3 separate regions of the Homo sapiens genome follow, and regions 2 and 3 are each linked to region 1. Evidence: promoter capture Hi-C in 16 types of primary human blood cells and fetal thymus (Javierre and others, 2016). All regions are on one chromosome and are shown on one strand. The core of a region is centred on a gene start or on the middle of the fragment in contact, and the rest is flanking DNA. Distances in the headings are between cores, read along the strand shown. Region 1 holds the start of ZNF786 (zinc finger protein 786). Region 2 has its middle 3.2 kb from the start of ZNF746. Region 3 overlaps ZNF746 (zinc finger protein 746).

Region 1 (3,923 bases), core at 608-3,107:
CCCAGAGGCTGCAATGAGCTGAGATCGTGCCACTGCACTCCAACCTGGGCAACAAGGGCAAGACTTCGTCTAAAAAAAAAAAAAAAAAGTTCATAGCAGTATACATTAAAAAATTGTACTGTATACACTTCGGGAGGCCGAGGCGGGTGGATCACCTGAGGTTGGGAGTTCGAGACCAGCCTGACCAACATGGCGAAACCCCGTCTCTACTAAAATACAAAAAATTAGCCGGGCATGGTGGCGCGTGCCTGTAGTCCCAGCTACTCGGGAGGCTGCGGCAGGAGAATAGCTTGAACCCGGGAGGCGGAGGTTGCAGTGAGCCGACATCCCACCACTGCACTCCAGCCTGGCGACAGAGCAAGACTCTGTCTCAAAAAAAAAAAAAAAAAAAAAAAAAAAAAAGCCAGGCGCGGTGGCTCACGCCTGTAATCCCAACACTTGGGGAGGCCGAGGCAGGTAGATCACAAGGTCAGGAGTTTGAGGCCAGCCTGACCAACATGGTGAAACCTCGTCTCTACTAAAAATACAAAAATTAGCCGGGCGTGGTGGCAAATGCCTGTAATCCCAGCTACTCGGGAGGCTGAGGCAGGAGAATTGCTTGAATCCAGGAGACAGAGGTTGCAGTGAGCCGAGATTGCGCCACAGCACTCCAGCCTGGGTGACAAGAGTGAGACTTTGTCTCCAAAAAAAAAAAATTGTACTGTATAACAGTTGTAAAAATAAAAAACGTTAAACAGTAAGGTGCATGTACATTTCACGATTCTGTGGCAAACACAGATGCGTATATGCTCCTCAGCCTACGCAGGGACTATTTTATTTCTTATGCACATCCTCTCCAAACTACACACTTTTCCTTTGCTACTTCAGCCTGACACCTAAGACATGACTAAGACAGAATGCGAGGTTGATTTTCTGGAGACAATCGCCACCCCCTTCCTCGCCCTCTCTCCTTTCTGTCTCTTCCTGGTTTCCCCACCTCTCCCCTGTTCTTGCGTTCTCGTGTTTCTCACGCCCTGTGTCATGGCCTCCTCCGTCTTCTCCTCCTACTCTGTCTCTGTCTCCTGCCGGGGCCCGGGGTGCCCGACCGCAGCCTTGGGCCACCCTGAGTCCCTGCAGGCGGCCCTGAGGCCGGGGTGGCTTCCGCATGGGGTCTCTGCCCAAGGCCGTTCTCTGCTAAGGAAGGAGCGTGGCCGCCCGGGGAGCCCGGAGGGCTCTAGACCCACGGCGACCGGACCTGGTGGGCGGACCCCGCCTCCGCGTCCCCGGCGGGACAAGCATGGGGCCCCCACGGCCTCCGCGCCCCCGGCGGGACGGATGCCCCGGGCCACCGCGGGCAGCGCGCGCCCCCCACCCACTTTCCGGCCTCGCTGGATTCCCGGGACCCCCTCACAGACGAAGCCTGTCTCGGGGGCGGCTTTGGGAGGAACCGCACCGGAGGTTCCCCTCTCGCTGCCTCTCAGTCTGGGTTTCTGTGGAGCGCGTCTCCCTGTCCCTGTCCCTGATCTCTCCCTGTCCCTGTCCCTGATCTCTCCATGTCCTGCCCCTCCGTTTCCCCTCCGGCCAGCTCCTCAGCTTGTCTCTGACCGCTTCCCTCCCCAGATCCCGGGAATCCGAGGGTCCCTCAAAGACCGGCGTGCTGCGGCCTGCTCTGAGGGCGCCCGGGCCCCTGGGTCCCTCCTCTGAGGACCGACGCTCAGGCAGCGCCGCTTCTTCCTCCCGCAGGAGGCGCTGTAGGACTGAGCGGCAGCCGCGGCCGGGCGCCGGGTCCCAGCATGCACCGCGCCCGGCCGGCGCTGCGTTTGGGGGCCACCCGGGCTGTGCGTGGGAGTCGGGTTGGGGCGGAGCGGAGGGGAGTCAGTGCGCAGCAGGGCAGGTTCCTGCGGAGCCGCCGGAGACGGTCGGGTTTGCCAGGGCCGGGCGGGACCGCGGGGACCATGGCGGAGCCGCCTCGGGTAAGCGGGCTAGCCTGTTTGGACGCCCGGTTTCGGGGTCGTGGTGGGTCCTCGGGTTCCGGGCTCGCCCGTGTCCTGGGGTCCCCGTGAGTGCGCGCGGTGCACGGGTAGGACGGAGTCTGCAGGCTGCTTCTGCTGGGGATGTGGATTCCGGGCCCTGCGGTGAGCAGGTGGCCTCCGCTCCCGCGGCTTGTCCGTGGCCAAACCCCTGGACAAAGCCGAGCGTGGACCGAGGCCGACCTAGGAGCGGGGCGGAGCCTGGGCGAGGATGCCGGGCGGACGGGGAGCGGACGGTGGAAAGGATAGAAAGGTTTGGGGCCAGAGGTGGATGTTACAGGTCAACCAGTTTTACATCATAGTCACCGAAATCAGAACAACTGTTCCAAAAAGTTTAAGATTCCGAATGGTTGAAATGGTGTTTGGCGGGGGCTTCAATGTCAGAATTTATTGTCTAGCGTGATTTGGGTTGAGTGTAAGATGATACGTTGGGAAGAGTAGAAGAGGATACAAAAAATTAAGTTAGTGGTTTCTTAAAATCGAGGTTTAGAGGGTATTTTTATCTTGTAAACTTTAATGTTGAGGATTTTTGCTGATTATTAAATGAATTAGGCCGGGCGCGGTGGCTCACGCCTGTAATCCCAGCACTTTGGGAGGCCGAGGCGGGTGGATCACGTGAGGTCGGGAGTTCGAGACCAGCCTGGCCAACATGGTGAAACCCCAACTCTACTAAAAATACAAAAAATTAGCCTGGCATGATGGCGGGCGCCTGTAATCCCAGCTACTCGGGAGGCTCAGGCAGGAGAATTGTTTGAACCCGGGAGACGGAGGTTGCAGTGAGCCGAGACTGCACCATTGCACTCCAGCCTGGGCAACAAGAGCGAAACTCCGTCTCCAAAAATATATACATACCTATATATATGGGGAAAGGATATAAACAGCCAAATCACAGACCTGAAAATAAATTATTAATGAGTAAAAGAATGGATTTTAAAACTTGTGACATTCAGGCCAGGCGCCGTGGTTTACGCCTGTAATCCCAGCACTTTGAGAGGCCGAGGTGGGCAGATCACTTGACGTCAGGAGTTCAAGACCAGCCTGGCCAACATGGCGAAAAACTGTCTCTACTAAAAAATACGAAAATTAGCTGAGTGTGGTGGCGGACGCCTGTAATCCCAGCTCCTCGGGAGGCTGAGGTAGGGAGAATTGCTTGAACTCGGGAGGTGGAGGTTGCAGCGAACTGAGATGGCGCCACTGCACTCCAGCCTGGGCGACAGAGCGAGACTCTATCTCAAAAACAAACAAACTTGTGACATTCAGACGGTGGAACACTATACAAAATTAAAATAAATTAGCTACATATATGATCAACAGGGCCGGGCGTGGTGGCTCACGCCTCTAATCCCAGCACTTTGGGAGGCCAAGGCGGGCGGATCACGAGATCAGGAGATCGAGACCATCCTAGCTAACACGGTGAAACCCCGTCTCTACTAAAAATACAAAAACAAAAATTAGCTGGGCGTGTGGGCGGGAGCCTGTAGTCCCAGCTGCTCGGGAGGCTGAGGCGGGAGAACCCGGGAGGCGGAGCTTGCAGCGAGCCGAGATCGCGCCACTGCACTCCAGCCTGGGCGACAGAGCAAGACTCTGTCTCCAAAAAAAAAAAAAAAAGAAACTCAACAGGGCCAGATCCCAAAATGTTGAGGGAAGAATACAAGTATAATAAAGTATTTACGTATAAAAGACACAAAGTAATACTGAATATTTACAGATACATATATGTATTAAAATGAACTGGAAAGTTCCCATATTATTTATAATGTTTGCCTTTACAAAGGAAGGAGAATGTGACAATATCAGAACATGATTGAAGAGAGGAACCACAAGAACTTGAGTTTCACCGGTCACATTCTATTTCATTAAAAGGAACTCTGAAGAAAAATGTTAAACTTGTTAAGTCAGTGGTGAATACTAGGA
Region 2 (3,923 bases), core at 493-2,992, 410 kb before region 1:
CACCTGAGTAATAAGCTTGTTTCTATTATAATTAATAATATTGCTGGGGTGGGCCATGTTCTGCACAGTAAGTACTCCTTGAGAAATCTAATTTTTGTACCTAGAACACTATTTTCAAAAGCTGTGGAGATTTTAGTTATGGGAGAATTCAATAACTTTAGTTATTAAAAATTTTTAATGAATCTAAAAACAAAACTCTGATGCTTGTTTCTTATGTCTGGATTTTTCCATATTTCCATATTTGGAGTTTGCTCCAAATATGGAAGGGCCTCCTATATTCTTTTACCATCCACCTCACCTCCACTGGCGCAAGGTGACCTCACTCCTGCCCTGGAGAGCTCAGGTGCAGAGACTTGCACTCTGCTGAGGGCGTCTGGAATGCCCTGTTGTTCATTCCTGTCGCTCAAAGTTCTGACCCCAGAGAAGATGCCAGGGCCCTGGGACGGGTCACTCTCTAAGCTGTTGTCAGTCATAAACACCCTAGGTGTAGGCAGGTTTTAACATCACCATATCAGAATAACTGAGGCTATGGACGCTTCTAGAAAACTTGAAAGGCAATCATGGATGCCAGGGCACTGAAACTTCCTCCACACATCTGCCACTTGCCCACCTTGCCCCTGGCTTTCTAATGCCACATCAGGATCTTACCTCCAGGTTGGCAGAGGGTGATGCCATCATGGTGGAAACTCAGCAACACCTGAGATGCCTGGAGCTATGCTTCTCAGACGGAGGCACGGACCCCCTGAAAGGGAGGTCCAGGGTGAGGAGGGATGTGGGAGTGATACAGGAGGGAGGCAGGAAAGTGCTGGGTAGAGAAAGGCAGGGTCCCTGGCAAAGGCTCTACCCTCAGGCCTGTGCCCACTGACCTAGGTGAGGACAGGTATTTCTGTTTCTGTGGCTAAATGTGGCATTTCCAAGACCACCCTGGCCTGCCACACACCCCATCCTGTGCCTTTAAACATCCTGAGACCCTAGTGGGCACGGACACGAGCAGCTGGACATCGAGAGGAACTCAACAGCAGAAGAACACACGGGCAGACACCAGCAGACGCCGGCAGGCCATCTATGACGGGACGACACGGAGTTCAGCAGAGGCCAGTCGGAGGAGGGCCCGGCCACTGGGTGGCCTGACTCCAGGGAAAGGCCACCTTCCCACTCCATCCTCCTTCTGGCCTCTCCATCCACCTCACTGAGAGCTGCCACCACTTAATAAAAAGCCTTGCACCCATCCCCCAAGCCCACGCGTGATCTAATTTTTCTGGCACACTAAGGCAAGAACCCCAGGATACAGAAAGCCCTCTGTCCTTGTGATAAGCCCCACAGCCTGCCTGCCTACATGCTCCCGCTAGAGGTTTGAGCAGCGGGGCACTGACAAAGTGAGCTGCAGCCCCCATCTCACACCCTGAGAGGCGGATGAGGGAATTGTTCCCATTTCAGGAGCAAGAGAGGGGTTTTGAAACATCAAATAAATTTTTTACTCTGGTCAATAAATCAAAATAATCTTTTAAAATTAAAACAAGCACAGAAGTTTTATAAAGGAGACAAGATTTAATGGATTGTTAAAGTATGACAATTTATCACACCTTCTGGCTCACCAAGGGCCATTTCAGGCAGCGTCCAGACCCACAGGACATACATTCACTTTTCTCTGTACTCAAGGGCTCTGGTATAGAATATTTTTGAGGCACTGGCCTCCAGCCAGCCAACCCCAGAGGACTGTGAGTCTCCCAGCTCCCAGCAGAAGGAAAGGAGGTAGCTTCTCAGAGCCATGGCCCTGACCATCCGCATCTGCAAATTTCACTGAGGGATTTGAGGCAGGAACTTGGCACTGGCTCCATGGGAGAGACTCCAGGGCCAGCTGCAAGTTCTCCAGCACTTCACCACATCTAACCGCTGCAGGGTAACGCTCAATGTGAGAGCACTCAGACAATGTAAGGGAAGTTAAGCTCGAGCAGACACCACCTGGAGCCCAAGGATGCCTGCTGCAATGCCTGGCCAACTTTCACCATGCCTTTGTATCTGTCAGGATAGGCTAGGTTAAACTGTGGAACAAGCAACCCCCAAACCATGTTACAACAAAAAGTTTCATGTTCATGCTGTAAGTAGCTCATCATGGGATGGCTGGGGAGTCTACTCAATGTCCCCCACCTCCAGGATGCAGGCAAATACAGCACCCACCTCCTCAAATATTGCTGGGTTACCATAGTAGAGGGAAAGAAAAAACATCAGCCAGAACTTGTCACATGGTCCAACCCAGCCAGAAGAAACCAGGAAGTGCCATCCAGCCATGGTCTTCAAGAGAAACCAGCTGGAAATATTTAGTGGGCAGCAATGATTACCACAGTCTTTTTGAAAACCCCAAGCCTGAACTTTTAGGCTGTGTGCCTGGTCCCAGGGGAAAAGCTCAGGCCTAAGGGAGCAGCTGGAAAAATAGAGGTCCACCTGTTCTGCTGTACCTGCTGGAGTATAGGAAGCACTCATAGGGGTGCATGGGTCCATAGTCCCTACATCTACACAGTCTATGTGCAGTATGAACCACACACTTCCTGCCTCCCTGACACCTTGAGTTGACATGTGGTCTCATGTTCTCTAGCCCTTCCAGGCTCCTTCTGGGTGTGTTGAAAATGCTTTATGATTTTTCTTCTAGGAATACTCAGCAGGAAGGTGGAGATGGTAGGGGCTGCAGAAGTATTAGAGCAGAGGAGGGGATGATTCTTTGGACCACAGTTGATCACACCACACAGAGCAATCAATTAAGACTTGTACTAAATCATTACTTTATGTTGCCTAAACCTGCCCAGTATTAGGCACTGCAGGAGAGACAAGAGAAATAAGATATAGTCCCTGCTCTCAGGGAACTTATAATCCAAGAGGTGAGTTAGGAACTACTACCTTGTATTGTAATTTTTTTCTCAGTGCCATATGAATGGCACCGAGAATAAAAATTATTAGAGTTGGGACAATGCAGAGCTTGCTGCAGCCGTGATTGGCATGGAGAGACTTAACTGGAAGAATTAGGGCATATGCTGGTCTGGAAAAGGTGTGAGAACTTCGGGTGGGCAAGAGGAGAGGGGAAAAGCATGAGGAAAGGCACAGGAGTGGAAACTCTCATGCCTGCTTTTGACACCTGTGCCCAAAATGGAGGGAAAGGCTTTGGAAGCCTCATATATCAATCCAAGGAGGTTTATCTTCGTTCTTTTTACAAATAGAGGCTGGAAAACCAGCACCAGAGATGCTCTGCAATAGATGCCTGTCTTCAGTGGAGGACAGAGCAAGTCATCATTACCCTAACTTGGCTGTCTGCAGAGCCCCAGCTTCACCCTTACCTCAACCCCTACAAGGAACTTGTTAAAAAGAGACCTTCTTTTAAAATAAGTTTTCTCCACATTACTCAGGACCCATCCCAAAGACATTTTGATTCAGTAGATATGAGATGGGATCCAGAAATCCATATCCTTCACAAGCTTCCCCAGAGACTGATGCAGCTGCTCTGAGAGCCAGGCTTGGAAATTACTACCTAGAGATGACCCTGGCATATCCGACTCAGCCTGTCAAAAGGGAACTTTTTAAATTGCACACTAAAAATGTCTCTTTATTTCTAATGCACTGTATTTCTGTCACCCAGTGGTGTGATCTCCACTCACTGCAACCTCTGCCTCCCGGGTTCAAGCGATTCTCGTACCTCAGCCTCCCCAGTAGTTGGGATTACAGGTGCGTGCCACCACGCCTCGCTAATTTTTTCTATTTTTAGTAGAGACGGGGTTTTGTCATGTTGCTCAGGCTGGTATCAAACTCCTGAGCTCAGGCAATCCACCCATCTTGGCCTCCCAAAGTGTTAGAATTACGGGCGTGAGCCACTGCGCCCGGCCCTAAAATGCTTTATATCTTCCTACATCAATTTTTTTTTGGGCTGTCATCCAGCT
Region 3 (3,923 bases), core at 434-2,933, 390 kb before region 1:
ATAATATTTGCTAAAGATTTTGTTTACAAATATCCTTTATCTGGCTAAAGAAGTTTCCTATGTCTGTGTTTGGCTAGGTGTTTCTAACAGTAATGACTTGAATTTTATATAATTTCTTTTGGTATCCATTGAGATGATTATACATTTTTTTCTCCTTAACCTGCTAGTAAGGTAAATTATGTTACTTTCTAATGTTGAACCAACCTTGCAGTCTTGGAATAAACCTAACTTTGTCATGATCCTTTATGAACATTGCTGTATGCTAATTATTTTGTTTAGGATTTTTGAATCTTTGTTCATGGATGAGATGGGCTTGTAATTTTCTTTTCTCAGACTGTTTTTGTCTGGTTTCGGTATTAAAAATATGAGCTATGATGTATTCATTCTGTTTTTAATTTTCAGAGAGTTTTTGTAATGTTGGAATTATCTATTCCTTCAACATTTAGTAGAAAACACCAGTGGGGCCACCTGAGCCTTAAGTTTTCTTTGTGGGGAAGATTTTTTACTACCGATGTAATTTATTTTAGTTACAGGACTATTCAGGTTTTCTATTTCTTCTTTAGTTTTGGCAGGTTGAAATTTTCCTAGGAATTTGTCCATTTCCCCAGAGTTTTCAAATTACTTGGAATAACATTCATAATATCCTCTATATCTTTTAAATCTCTGCTGCATTTATCATTATGTTCCCTTTTTCATTCTTCCAATTGGTTATTGGTGCTGTCTCTCCCATTCTCTTGATAACCTTGCTAGAGGTGAATTGGTTTAACAGTCTCTTCAAATAACCAACTTTGACTAACTATATTCTATCTTTGTCTTCTCTTTTATTAATTTATGATACTCTTATATGTATTATTTCCTTCTACTTTTGAAAAGGTTCTTAAATGTTATTTATTTTCTAATGTCTTGCATTGACGCTTAACCCATTAATTTTTGACCTGTGTTTTTGTTTTTTTTTTTATTTTTTTACACGGAGTCTCGCTCTGTCGCCAGGCTGGAGTACAGTGGCGCGATCTTGGCTTACTGCAATCTCCACTTGCCGGGTTCAAGCCATTCTCCTGCCTCAGCCTCCCGAGTAGCTGGGACTACAGGCACATGCCACCACACCCAGCTAATTTTTGTATTTTTAGTAGGGATGGGGTTTCACCATGTTGGCCAGGATCATCTCGATCTCCTGACCTCGTGATCCACCTCAGCTTCCCAAAGTGCTAGGATTACAGGTGTGAGCCACTGCGCCCAGCCCCTGTGTTATCTTTTTTAATATAAACATACAAGGCTATAAAATTTCCTCTAAGTACCATTGTAGCTGTAGCCCATACATTTTGATAGATAATATTTTCATTAATATTGGGTTCCAGATACCTTCTAATTTTCATTGTGATTTTTTTCTTAGACTCAGATTATTTAGAAAGCGGTATATTTTAAAATTTTAGTATGTATGGGAGTTATTGATTTCAAACTTAATTGTGTTGTAGCTAGAAAATGCAGTGTGTAAAATACTAGTCGTTTAAATTTTGCTGAAGTCTGTTTTATGACCTAGAAAGTGTTCATTTTTCCTTAACGCTCTGTAGCTTAAAAAGCTTGTGTTTTCTCTGTGTTTGGAATCTGCTTAGGTCCCTTTAATCAGGTTTGTTAGTAGAGTTGCTCAAATTTTATATAACCTTTAGTTGGCTAGATTTATCAATTACAGAGAGATATATCAAAATCCCCTACTGTAAAGATGGATTTGTTCATTTCTCCCTAGAGTTTTATCAGTTTTGCTTTATTATTTTGAAGCTATATGATAAGCTTAAAAAATTAGAGTTATTGGCTGGGTGTAGTGGCTCACGCCTGTAATCCTAACACTTTGGGAGGCTGAGACGAGTGGATCACCTGAGGTCAGGAGTTTGAGGCCAGCCTGGCCAACATGGTAAAACTCTGTCTCTACTAAAGATATAAAAAATAGCCAGGCGTGGTGGCACACATCTGTAATCCCAGCTACTCGGGAGGCTGAGGCAGGAGAACTGCTTTAACCTGGCAAGTGGAGGTTGTAGTGAGCCGAGATTGCACCATTGCACTCCAGCCAGTGCAGCAGAGCAAGGCTCCATCTCAAAAAAAAAAAAAAACCTTAGAATTACTTTATCTTCCTGGTTAGTTTACTATTATGCAGTAATTCTTTTTATTTCTATGAATATTTTTACTTTCAAAGTTTATTTCATGTGATATGGTATAGCTACATCATTTCTTTACATTGTTCTGGCTTAGTACATCTTTCATTCTTTTACATTGCTTTCTGCGTCCTTCTGTTTAGGTATGTCTCTTGTAAACAGCAGATAGCTGGGGGATTTGTTTGGTTTTAGTCTGAAAATCTTTACCTTTACCTTTTAAATATCCAAACAGTAGCCACTATCCACCTGTAGCTACTGAGCACTTGAAATGTGCTGTAAGGATAAAATACATACCGTATTTCAAAAACCGTGTACAAAAACAAGCCGTGAGTACAAAATATGCATGTATAAAATAATATAAATCATTTTATATTGATTATACGTTGAAGTAACATTTTTTATATCTTGGGCTAAATAAAATGTACTGTTAACATTTATTTCACCTGTTCTTACTTTTTTAACATGACTACCAGAGTACTTAAAATTAGATATGTGGTTCACATTCTTTTTTCTTCTTAGCTCTGGTCTAGACCATTTACATTGATTATGGTTATTAGTTTATTTGGATTCTTTTTACCATCTTAAATTGTGCTGTTAATCTTTAGTTCTGCCTTTTCTGTATTTTTCCTGCCTCTCCTTTGGGAATTATTCATTTAGGTATTTTCCTTTTCAAACTATTGTTATTTTAAATTAATTTGACAGTTATGTATTCTATTTCTATTGTTATAGAGGAATCTTTAGAAATTTTTTCTTCCTTTAGAAGTTATTTTTTGTGGGTCTGATGGTAATGAGCCCTCAGTTTGTGTGTGTATATGAGTTTATATGTGTTTATATGTGTGAAAATATCTTTATTTCATCCCTATACAGTGAGTCCTCTGTATTTATGTATTCCACATTTGTGGATTCAGGTAACTGCACATTTGAAATATTCAGGAAAAAAGGTGTCTACTAAACATATACAGACTTTTTTCTTGTCATTATTCTCTGAACAATACAGTGTAGCAACTATCTACATAGCATTTACGTCGTATTAGGTATTATAAGTAATCTAGAGGTGATTTAAAGTATACAGGAGGATGTGTGTGGGTTATATGCAAATACTACACCAATTTATACAAGGGACTTGAGTATTGTGGGATTTTGGTATCCATGGGGTGCCCTAGAACCAATCCCCCACTGACACCAAGGGACAACTGTAGTGGAAAGACATAATTTTAGCTTGAGTGTTATTTTCTCTTAGCTTTTGAAGATAATTTGCCCCTTTTTTCTGGCTTTTGTTGTTGCTATTGAGAATCTGCCATCAGTCCAATCAGGATTCCTTTGTGGATGATCTGCATTTTTTCTTTCCCTGCTTTTAGGTCTCTTGGGTGATCTGCAGTTTTAATACAATGTGTCTAGATGTGGATTTATTTTCTTTTATCCTGCTTTAATCACTGAAATGTTTCACCAATTTGGGAAAATGTGTTATCTTCCCTCTTTGAATTTTGCCTTGCCCCCTTTCTAACCTTTTATTCTGGAACTTTTTCATATTATCCTTTATAACTTCGAACCCCTCTTTATATTTTTAGCTCAGTCTCTATGTTAAGGTTGGAATAATTTCTTCTATCTTCTAGTTAGTTCACTATTCACCATTCAATCATTTCCATTCTGTTGTTTAACCTACACATTGGATTTTAAAATTTCAGTTATTAGCCAGGCGCGGTAGCTCACGCCTGTAATCCTAGCACTTGGGGAGGCCGAGGCTGGCAGATTGCCTGAGCTCAGGAGTTCAAGACCAGC

Evidence for each region. The method cuts DNA at HindIII sites, captures the fragments that hold promoters and counts their contacts. A CHiCAGO score of 5 or more calls a contact.
Region 2: a contact is called between a fragment that was not itself captured here and the fragment with the promoter of ZNF786 in region 1, in 2 of 17 cell types (non-activated CD4 T cells and total B cells). The highest score is 5.6, in non-activated CD4 T cells.
Region 3: a fragment that was not itself captured here is called in contact with the fragment with the promoter of ZNF786 in region 1 in 1 of 17 cell types (monocytes); the score reaches 5.3 in monocytes.

What each region holds. Positions count from the first base shown.
Region 1 is chr7:149,088,652-149,092,574 of GRCh38, reverse strand. It overlaps ZNF786 (zinc finger protein 786), which reads left to right and starts at 1,857. Exons shown (of 4, transcript NM_152411.4): 1 at 1,857-1,952. The coding sequence starts at 1,935. RefSeq lists silencers at 1,006-1,495, 1,616-1,915. The HindIII fragment of the contact is 38,912 bases long and covers 1-3,923 here.
Region 2 is chr7:149,499,022-149,502,944 of GRCh38, reverse strand. No RefSeq gene overlaps it. Among named protein-coding and RNA genes, the nearest start is that of ZNF746, 3.2 kb to the right of the region's middle. The HindIII fragment of the contact is 3,449 bases long and covers 18-3,466 here.
Region 3 is chr7:149,480,647-149,484,569 of GRCh38, reverse strand. The region is part of intron 4 of ZNF746 (zinc finger protein 746); the gene reads left to right. Among named protein-coding and RNA genes, the nearest start is that of ZNF746, 15 kb to the left of the region's middle. The HindIII fragment of the contact is 208 bases long and covers 1,580-1,787 here.